2 separate regions of the Homo sapiens genome follow, and region 2 is linked to region 1. The links are contacts of gene promoters, found by promoter capture Hi-C in blood cells and fetal thymus (Javierre and others, 2016). All regions are on one chromosome and are shown on one strand. The core of a region is centred on a gene start or on the middle of the fragment in contact, and the rest is flanking DNA. Distances in the headings are between cores, read along the strand shown. Region 1 holds the start of MSI1 (musashi RNA binding protein 1). Region 2 overlaps RNF10 (ring finger protein 10).

Region 1 (5,053 bases), core at 1,403-3,902:
TCCCCCTACACAGACCCCGATGGGGAGATGGTACCCAAGCCACGATCCCACAGACCCACGCACACCCCATCCCTGACACACCCCACCTCCACTGTGACTCACAGCTGGCAACATAAATAAAACCCAACAAGTAAATAAAAGGTGAAAGTCAGAGCTCAAAATAGACTCCCCACAGTAAACCTCCCTCCCACCCCCTTTCCCAGGCTGGAGGACGCCAAACACAGACAAAGCCCTGGCCCTTTTCAGCCCCATCTCCTAAGGATGCTCATCTCACCCTCCTTCCTCCCTCATTCTCTTCCCCTTTATCAATCTTCCACTCCTCCATCCCCCAGCCCCTAAATCTCAGCTTCCTCAGCACTGCAGAAGCCATCAGTGCATTCTGAGGACAGGGGATGGTAGCAGAACAGGCAGCTTGATGGCAGATAATCACCAAAAACAATAGGCCACTGTCTCTCCATTTCCAGGCTTGGGTCACTCAGGCTGCGCCAAGAAGATCCTTTCAGAGCCGGCAAAGTTGAGGCCTGGCCTCATTTGCTCATTACTGCGAGCGGGAGCGGGAGCCACTGGGCAGAGATAACAGGAGCTGGGGACAGGCGGTAATTTGACAAATTCTTGGGCACAAGCAGCTATTGTTGCAGGTAAACGGGAGCCAGGGACTGACCCAAGCAGAGAGGCCCAAGGCTGGGGGACAGCAGGGAAGCATGGAGAGAAGAGATCCACACTATCCCTGCCCCCAGCAGACAGACACCCCCATCACATGGGAGTAACCCCCTCCTCTGACTTTTCTACTTTTCCATCTGCCCTGGAGCCAGCGCCCCCTGCAGGGTCTAAGACACGAAGGAGCTGTGGGACAACAGCAAAATGTTCCATGAGTTTGAATGCCAACCAAGCAGCTTCTCCTAAGATCTAGTCTTCCGAAGGGTCGTTTCCAGGCAAGCTAGAGCCTTTCTCATAAATCCCCTCCGTGGGCAAAGCAGGTCCCTGTCTTCCACACAAAGCAAGGAGCTCATTGACCAAAAGTCGGGGGAGGAGGGAAGGAGAGAGGGAGGGGGCTTCAAGGGATGCTTTGCCATTGGTCTGGATGAAGAGGGGGTGTCGCAGAGCCAAATACTAGTTAGAGTTCACAGAAGCCACCGGGTGGGTCAGTGCTACCCTGACTCACCCAATTTGGGCTGGGGGAGGGACCTAGCCCCACCCCAAGCTCTGCTCTGAGGCATCATGATTAGTACTTCTAGGGAGAGGGTGGCGGCTGCCTCTCCCCTCACCAGGACTAGGGGAGGGGGGATGTAGCATCTCATGGCAGGCCAGGGATTTTTCTCCTCCCTCTCCCCCCCAACTCTAGTGACAAAGTTTCAGAGCATGGCAGCCCTCTTACTCAGAAAAACTCCCTCCTTCCTCATGGACCCCGTCCAGCTGTCCCCTGGGGAGAGTCCTGACCCTCTCCTCCGGCAGCCTCCCTCTCCCAAAGGACCCCCGAAGCCCCGAGGGCCACTCACTGTTTTGGAGTCGAGCTCGTGCCGCGATTGCGCCAGCACTTTATCCACCCCCGCCTGGTCCATGAAAGTGACGAAGCCGAAACCCCTGCGCGCCGTAGTGAGGGAGAGGCAGATGGTTACAAGGCAGTGAGTGGCGGGTGGAGGGGGGCGAGCCGGGAGCAGGAGGAGGGGGTGAGGGGCTCACCTGGATCTCTTGGTCAGGGGGTCCCGCATCACCAGACACTCCTTCACCTCCCCGAACTGGCCGAAGTATTCGCGCAGCCCTTCTGTAACCACACACCCGCCTTCGGACCAGCCCGGGCCCCGCGCCCTTCCCCCCCCCCCGTCCTTTGCCCCCGGTGACCCCGGAGCGGCCCGGCCGCCCCCGCGCCAAGCTGCCCGCGCGTTCTCCACTGCCGCCGCCCCCCACCGCCCTCGCCCCGTTCCCGCTGAGCCTCCTGGCGCCCACCGGGGCCCCGGGAAGCCGAGGGCCGAGCTGGGCTGGAAGGGGGACGGCTCCGGCCGGGTTCCCGCCGCTCCGGGAGCAGCCTCACAAAAGTTTGAGCCGCAGGTGCGAGCGGAGTTGGCGCTGCCGCCGGCGGGTCCCGGGGGCCCAGCCCACCCCCCGATACCCCCTGAACCCCTCATCTGCTCCCCTCCACCCGCTGGGCCGGGTGCGCTCGCGGATCGCCCTGCGCTCTCGGGGTCTCCGGGCGGGGCGCGAAAGAGGGCGCGAGGGCGCCCGGGGTCAGCAGGGCGCAGGGCCGGGCTGGGGTGTCCGGGTCCGGGGCGCCGGGGGGTCCGGGGTGCCCTGCCGGACCGGCGGGCGCTCCCGGGCTCGCTCACCCTGCGTAGTCTGCCAACTGAGTCCCCCGATGAACATCTTGCTGCGGGAGGAGGAGAGACACAAAGGGCCCGCGTGAGCGCCGGGCGCCAGGGCGCAGGGGGCGCGGGCCCGGGCTCCGGGGAGGCCCGGCCGGACCCGGATCGGCCATGTTGGCGGGGCCGGGGCGGGCGCGGGCCAAGCAGGCCGGGCCGGGCCGTACCAGGGGTCGTGCGGCGAGTCCGGGGAGGCGAGGCCGGGCTGGGGCGCGTCAGTCTCCATCGGGAGCCGCGGGCGGCGCGGGCAGCGGAGCGGCGGCGGCGGCGGCGGCGGCGGCGCTCGGCGCGGGGCAGATGAGGAGCGCGGCGAAGGGGGCCGGACGGACAGGCCATGCTGCCCCCTCCCCCGACCCCGCTCGGGCGGGCGGGCGGGGACGGCCGAGGGGAGGGCCCGCCGGGGGCCGACCTGCCGGCTCCTCCCCCCGCCGCCCTGCGCGCATAAAGCCCCGCGCTCGCCCGCGAGCCCGGGCGCCCGCGGAGGCGGCGGCGCCGGGACCCCCTTCCCGCGGGGCTCCTGGGTCTCCGGGGCCGAGCGAGACCCCCGAATCCCGGTGCGGGCCGGGACCAGGGCGCGGCCGCACCCCCCACCCACCCCGGCGCGGGGGCCCGGCCGCGGGAACGCCCTCCCGGAATGAAGCGCTTCCCGGTGCCTTCAAGGTAGCTCGGTTCCGGATCGGGAACCCCCCCGGTCTTCCCTCTCAGGTCCCTGCTGTCCAGAATTGAAGAGAACCCCAATCTCCTCGGGTCGGGCGGGAGATAGCCCTAGTGCTCCCCAGTCCCCACATGCTCCATTTCCCCAGTCGGAGCGAGAAGCCGCCCTCAGAGCCCCCAGTTTCCTCCCAACCTAATTTACAGCCCCCCACCCCCACCCCAGGGCTCTAATTTAGAGCCCTCGCTCCGTTCCCAGGATCCCATATCCAGTTTGGGGGACCCACTCAGTGCCTCGCGTCCCGAGTGGGGAACCTCCATCAGCACCCCAGTAGAAACCGTATCCTCTTCCCCAATCCGTCCTCAGCCCTTGGTGTCCAAAGTGAGAGTCCCCCTTAGTTTCCCCAAATCCCTGCCGTCCACATTAGTGGACCCTATGGTCTGTTGAGAAAATCCCGCGCCCCAAGCCCGGGTTCTCAGTTTGCCGCCACCCCCACCTCCCGGTGTGAGGAGTCTCCCCTGGTTCTCTCCCTCCCTGGCCGGTTTTTGTGAGATCCATTCAGACTCCTGTCCTGATTCGGGAAACCCGGTTCCAGACACTCACCACCCCCACCACACCGAGGCTGGAGGAAAAGGCAGTGCCTCTTAGAGCCTCCTGTTTCCAGTTTAGGAGCCCAACGCCTCAGCTGTGCACCGTCCCCTCCGAATGACCCCCTTCTTTTGCAGAGGTCTAAGCTCCACCCCATCCCATTGGAAGAGCCTAAACTACCTACCCACTGCATTTGGAATGACTTCCCTCAGTCCCTCTTATTTTGAGGCTACTCCCCGTGAAGGCAAACACCTTCCTTTCTACCCCCATCTTCTGGGTCTCTGGGATCCCCCAGTACTTGCACCCAAGGCTCCTTGGAGTCACCTTACGTACCCCTAAAATTCCCTCCCTCCAGCCTGGGAACAACCCTGAGAAAGTATTCTGGTTCACCAGGGGAGCTGCGGGGCCACTCTCCTTATCCCCACCTCTCCTTATCCCCGCCTCTCCATATCCCCACCTCTCCATATTCCCACCTCTCCATATCCAAGCCTTAGGACCCTTCACTTCCCCAGCTGAAACCAGCCAAAAAAGGATCAAACCAGGAAGCTTAGGTGGCCAACACCCCTTCTCCCCATCCCTGCTGGGGGTCTCAGTGCCACACAAGCCCCTCCCTCCCAACTCACCTTCTACTCCTTCCCCCATCCCTACCTTAATCCATCCGGTGTAATCCAGTGACAACCCATGTTGACAAGCCCTTTGCTGTTCACCTTCACATTCCATCCTGAATTCAACACCTTTTATTCCTGGGCATCATAACTCTGACCTCTGGAAGGGTGCCCATCCCCCTCTTGATAGCCCTCCTTCCCTCTCCCCACCCCAACCATCAGGCAGAGAAGAAAGTGAGAGACTTACAGTAATGGTTTCCTTGGGGACCTTCTGGGAATGCTCAGCAGGTATATCCTGCCACCCTGTGAGCATAACACTAGAAACAAACTTGCTTTTTCCTGTTTGTGTCCCCTACTCTGCCCCACAGTTTCTCAGCATCCCCTGGACTGGGGACTGGAGGGCCACCCACACAAGGCATTTCTTACCATTCCGACACAAAAGCATTCCAGTTTGTGTTGTAGCAGAGACACAGATGAGGGTGAGCAGGTAGCCTCTGCGGTATTAGGGAGGTGACTCTTCTTAGGTCTGAACTTAAAAAGGGTCATTGGAGAGGTGCGGGGAGTAGGGATCTTCCAGTGTTCCTGGACTTTGGTTTGTGTGCTGGTGCTGCTGGGCAGATGAGCTTGAAGGATAGGAAATGGGTCCTTTCCGGCAGTGGCGACCTACCCACGAGAACATGCCTCTCGACAGGGATCTCCTTCATCCTTCTCCAGAAGAGAAGAGGAAACAGAAGAAGAAACGCCTGGTGCAGAGTCCCGATTCCTACTTCATGGATATGACATGCCCAGGATGCTATAAAATCACCATGGTCTGTAGCCATGCACAAACGGTAGTTTTGTGTGTTGCCTGCTCC
Region 2 (5,053 bases), core at 1,756-4,255, 190 kb after region 1:
GCCACTGTGACCGGCCAAGAAAACCACTTTTAGTGTCCACAGAATTTTCGTTAATGAACATACCATCATGTCATTAACCCTTTATTTGAGATGGAATCTCACTTTGTCGCCTGGGCTGGAGTGCAGTGGCAATAATTACTTTTAATTAATTAAATTCATTAAAATAATTAAAATTAATTTAATTAATTAAATTAACTTTTAATTTTAAATTATTTTTTTTATTTTAAAAAATTAACTGGGCATGCAGGTATAGTTAATTTTTTATTTTTATTTTTAGCAGAGATGAGGTCTTGCTATGTTGATAGGCTGGTCTTGAACTACTCTTTTTTTTTTTTTTTTTTTTTTTGAGACGGAGTCTTGCTGTGTTTCCCAGGCTGGAGTGCAATGGTGTGATCTCGGCTCACTGCAACCTCCACCTCCTCGGTTCAAACGATTTTCCTTCCTCAGCTTCCTGAGTAGCTGGCATTTCAGGCACCTGCCACCACGCCCGGCTAATTTTTGTTTTTTTTGTGTGTGTGTGTTGTGCTTTTTTTGTTTTTGTTTTTGTTTTGAGATGGAGTCTCACTCTGTTGCCAGGCTGGAATGCAGTGGTGCAATCCCGGCTCACTGCAATCTCCGCCTCCCAGGTTCAAGAGATTCTCCTGCCTCAGCGTCCTGAGTAGCTGAGATTACAGGCACGCACCACCACACCTGGCTAGTTTTTGTATTTTTAGTAGAGACGGGGTTTCACCATGTTGGCCAGCATGGTCTCAATCTCTTGATCTTGTGATCCGCCTACCTCAGCCTCCCAAAGTGCTGGGATTACAGGTGTGAGCCACCGTACTCCGCCTGGTGTTATTTTTTTTTAATTTTATTTTTTGAGGCAGAGTTTTGCACTTGTTGCCCAGGCTGGAGTGCAATGGTGCGATCTTGGCTCACTGAAACCTCTGCCTCCTGGGTTCAAGCGATTTTCTTACTCCAGCCTCCCTAGTAGCTGGGATTATAGGCGCCCGTCACCACGCCCAGCTAATTTTTTGTATTTTTAATAGAAACAGGGTATCTCTATGTTGGCCAGGCTGGTTTCGAACTCCTAACTTCAGGTGATCCACCTGCCTCAGCCTCCCAAAGTGCTGAACGTGAGCCACCACACCCAGCTGGCTTGGTCTTAAACTTCTAAACTCAAGCAATCTTCCTGTCTTGGCCTCTCAAAGTACTGGGATTATAGGTGTGAGCCACTGCGCTGGTCCACCATTTCTTTATTCTTTATTGTTGGTTTTACTGGTTGGTTTGAGCTTTTCTTTTTCTGTGTGTGGTTTTTTTTGTTTTTTTTTTTTTTGAGACAGAGTTTCGCTTTTGTTGCCCAAGCTGGAATGCAGTGGCATGATCTTGGCTCACTGCGACCTCTGCCTCCTGGGTTCAAGCGATTCTCCTGCCTCAGCCTCCCAAGTAGCTGGGATTACAGGCATGCCCTACCAGGCCCGACTAACTTTTTTGTATCTTTAGTAGAGACGGGGTTTCACCATGTTGGTCAGGCTGGTCTCGAACTCTTGATCTCAAGTGATCCACCCGCCTTGACCTCCCAAAGTGCTGGGATTACAGGTGTGAGCCATGGTGCCTGGCTGGTTTGAGCTTTTCTGATATTACATACAATGCTGTAACAATAAACGCGTGACTAAAGTTTTGACTACATCTCTGGGTTTCTTAGATTTCTTATATCAAGAGCAGAGCTACAGACCTTATTTTAAGACCATTGTTAAATTATTTTCTAGGAAATCATGCTAAATTACCCCATTTTCACCCCAGAGAAAAGGCTGTATTTGAAAATTCCTATTTAGCTACACCATCGTGAGCTTTGAATGTTGCATTTCTTTGATCTTGCTGGCATTCTTATAGATGAACAGCACAGCCAGTACTCCAAGTTGCTGCTGGCCTCTAAGGAGCAGGTGCTGCACCGGGTAGTTCTGGAGGAGAAAGTAGCACTAGAGCAGCAGCTGGCAGAGGAGAAGCACACTCCCGAGTCCTGCTTTATTGAGGCAGCTATCCAGGAGCTCAAGGTGAGAGGATGCATTGGAGATGCTAAACCTTTTCACTTTCTCGGCGTTCTGTGGTGAAAACCAGAAATGCTAAACCTTTTCACTCTGTCGGGGGTGAGATGATGGACGCTGGGGATTAAGTTAGTTCCATTCCACATTTAAGACAATAAGCAGAGAATGGCTAAAAAAGCCAATTTGTTTTGGGCTTTGTTTGATGACAGTAGAGAAGGTTTAACCTAGGGCTTTTAAAGCTCTTTCTAGAGCTGAAAGGAGCAAGTCAAAATGATTTTATAACTAATTGTGACAGTGGAGTTTTTTAGATTAGCTATGTTCTTAAAGCAAGTTAGAGTTCTTTGTTTTCTGGGAAAATACTTAAGATTCTATTCTAGAGGTGTTTTGAAAGACATTGTGGAGAAAGTATTATGGCCTGCCCAGTATGCCTTAGGAGTACCTGAAACGGCAAGAATTACACAAGAACAGAATTCCCTGGGTCTTTTATCTTCCACAACAGAGATTCTTGAAGCATCACAACCACTGGTTGTTAGGTCCCACTTTGAGATATTGATTGCATAGGTTAAGCTCAGTAGGCTCAGTAATTTGCATATAACAAGTTCTAGGGTGATTCTGATGGCTGCTCATCCCCAGACCACACTCCTGGAACCACTGATCTAGCTTAGAGCAATAGAAGCCCATATTTATTGAGTGATCAGCATTTGATAGGACTTGTGCTATACACATTTATCTCACTTAAGCTTCTAGTGTGGTAGATAGAACTATCCCCTTTCATGGATGAGGAAACTGAATCCTGGGTTGGGTAATTTGCTAGTAAGGGATGCAGCTGGTATTTGAATTCCCTTCTCCCTGACTCCCAAGGGCTCCTTGGGTAGAGTCCTGTGTATTTAACTTTTGCTTTCTTTCTATAATACGTTGCAGCCGTATTTGTTCAAATGCCATTACAGGCATAAGAAAGGCTACATAGAATTAGAGCTGTCCAGGCTGAGGTGGAGTTAGCTAAATCCTTCCTACTACTCTGGACCTCTGTCTGAGCATAGTTTGTAAAAACTAGGTTAGTTTCATGTTCTTAGATTTCTGTTCTGGAAGTTTTTTGTATAGTGTTGTTTGTGTCAGATTCTCTTTTATTTTTTTTAACTTTTAAGTTCAGGGGTACAAATGCAGGTTGTTACATGGTAAACCTGTGTCATGGGGGTTTGTTATACAGATTTTCACCCAGGTATTAAGCTTAGTACCCATTGGTTATTTTTCCTGATCCCCTCCCTCCTCCCACTCTCCACCCTCTGATAGGCCTCAGTGTGTGTTCCCCTCTATGTGTCCATGTTTCATCATTTAGCTCCCACTTAGAAGTGAGAACATGTGTGCGATATTTGGTTTTTCTTTTTCTTTCTTTCTTTTTTTTTTTTTTTTTTTTGAGACAGAGTTTTGCTCTCGTTGCCCAGGCTGGAGTGCAGTGGCGTGATCTCGGCTCATCACAACCTCTGCCTCCAAGGTTCAAGTGATTCTCCTGCCTCAGCCTCCTGAGTAGCAGGAATTACAGGCATGCCCCACCATGCCTGGGTTATTTTGTATTTTTAGTAGAGATGGGGTTTCTCCATGTTGGTCAGGGTGGTCTTGAACTTCCAACCTCAGGTGATCCGCCCACCTCAGTCTCCCAAAGTGCTGGGATTACAGGCATGAGCCACCACACCTGGCCGTATGTGTCTTTACAGTAGAATGATTTATATTCCTTTGGCTATATACCCAGTAATGGGATTGCTGGGTGAAATTTTATTTCTGTCTTTAGGTCTTTGAGGAATCACCACACTGTCTTCCACAATGATTGAACTAATTTACACTCCCCAGTGTCAGATTCTAAGCAGATTCCAATCCTTAGTGGGTATTGCATGCTTTTTGCTTCCTGTTTCCCTCAAAGTTGAGATATTTAAGCACCTAATTCCTTCCCATTGGGTCTCATTGCCTTTTAACTTTTGGTCCTGTTGAGAGGCCATTCTAAGCCCTTGCCCTTCAAGCTAAGTGTGTGTCTGGAAACTTAACCTTCTCTGGTGTTCTCTCTGGCCACGTTAGACTCGGGAAGAGGCTCTGTCGGGATTGGCCGGAAGCAGAAGGGAGGTCACTGGTGTTGTGGCTGCTCTGGAACAACTGGTGCTGATGGCTCCCTTGGCGAAGGAGTCTGTTTTTCAACCCAGGAAGGTTAGTGTGTTCCTGTTACTAAGTGGCTGCCGTTCCTCAAATGCTGTCATTGAGCTGGTAGGCATTACTGTGAGATCTAAACCTTCTCAAGAGAAGAGGGGACAATGAGTATTTTCTGTATGCTTGTTATTAGTTCTTTCCCCAGGGGTGTTAAATCAGTGAACACGACAGCTAAGATAAACATCTAGGGAGCTTGGCTCTTAGGTCTGCATTTGCCACATTGCTTTCGGAAAGCAGGAGATATCCTTTCTGTTGACTTAGAGTTTGCTGCAACAGGGTGTGCTGGAGTATCTGTCTGCCTTCGATGAAGAAACCACGGAAGTTTGTTCTCTGGACACTCCTTCTAGACCTCTTGCTCTCCCTCTGGTAGAAGAGGAGGAAGCAGTGTCTGAACCAGAGCCTGAGGGGTTGCCAGAGGCCTGTGATGACTTGGAGTTAGCAGATGACAATCTTAAAGAGGGGACCATTTGCACTGAGTCCAGCCAGCAGGAACCCATCACCAAGTCAGGCTTCACACGCCTCAGCAGCTCTCCTTGTTACTACTTTTACCAAGGTGAGGGTGCCGGAAGAGAGGGCTGGGTTGCCGCAGAGGTGTTTCAGAGGTGACCCGGTGCTCTAAGCAGAGGAGCGCCACTAGATCCTGTGGCTTGGGTGGCTTGAGCCCTTGGGCATGGGGAGGGGTGGGGAGCCTCCTGGGGACTGGCCAAGACTGGTGTGTGATAGAGCCCCTTGTCCTCAGCGGAAGATGGACAGCATATGTTCCTGCACCCTGTGAATGTGCGCTGCCTCGTGCGGGAGTACGGCAGCCTGGAGAGGAGCCCCGAGAAGATCTCAGC

What was found. The method cuts DNA at HindIII sites, captures the fragments that hold promoters and counts their contacts. A CHiCAGO score of 5 or more calls a contact.
Region 2: a contact is called between a fragment that was not itself captured here and the fragment with the promoter of MSI1 in region 1, in 2 of 17 cell types (naive B cells and total CD8 T cells). The highest score is 5.1, in naive B cells.

The regions. Positions count from the first base shown.
Region 1 is chr12:120,366,512-120,371,564 of GRCh38, forward strand. It overlaps MSI1 (musashi RNA binding protein 1), which reads right to left and starts at 2,653. Exons shown (of 15, transcript NM_002442.4): 1 at 2,522-2,653; 2 at 2,322-2,362; 3 at 1,681-1,762; 4 at 1,497-1,581. The coding sequence starts at 2,580. It also overlaps the pseudogene RPS27P25. The HindIII fragment of the contact is 14,859 bases long and covers 1-4,138 here.
Region 2 is chr12:120,558,854-120,563,906 of GRCh38, forward strand. RNF10 (ring finger protein 10) reads left to right here. Exons shown (of 17, transcript NM_014868.5): 7 at 1,873-2,033; 8 at 4,092-4,217; 9 at 4,494-4,770; 10 at 4,957-5,053. Among named protein-coding and RNA genes, the nearest start is that of POP5, 20 kb to the right of the region's middle. The HindIII fragment of the contact is 487 bases long and covers 2,763-3,249 here.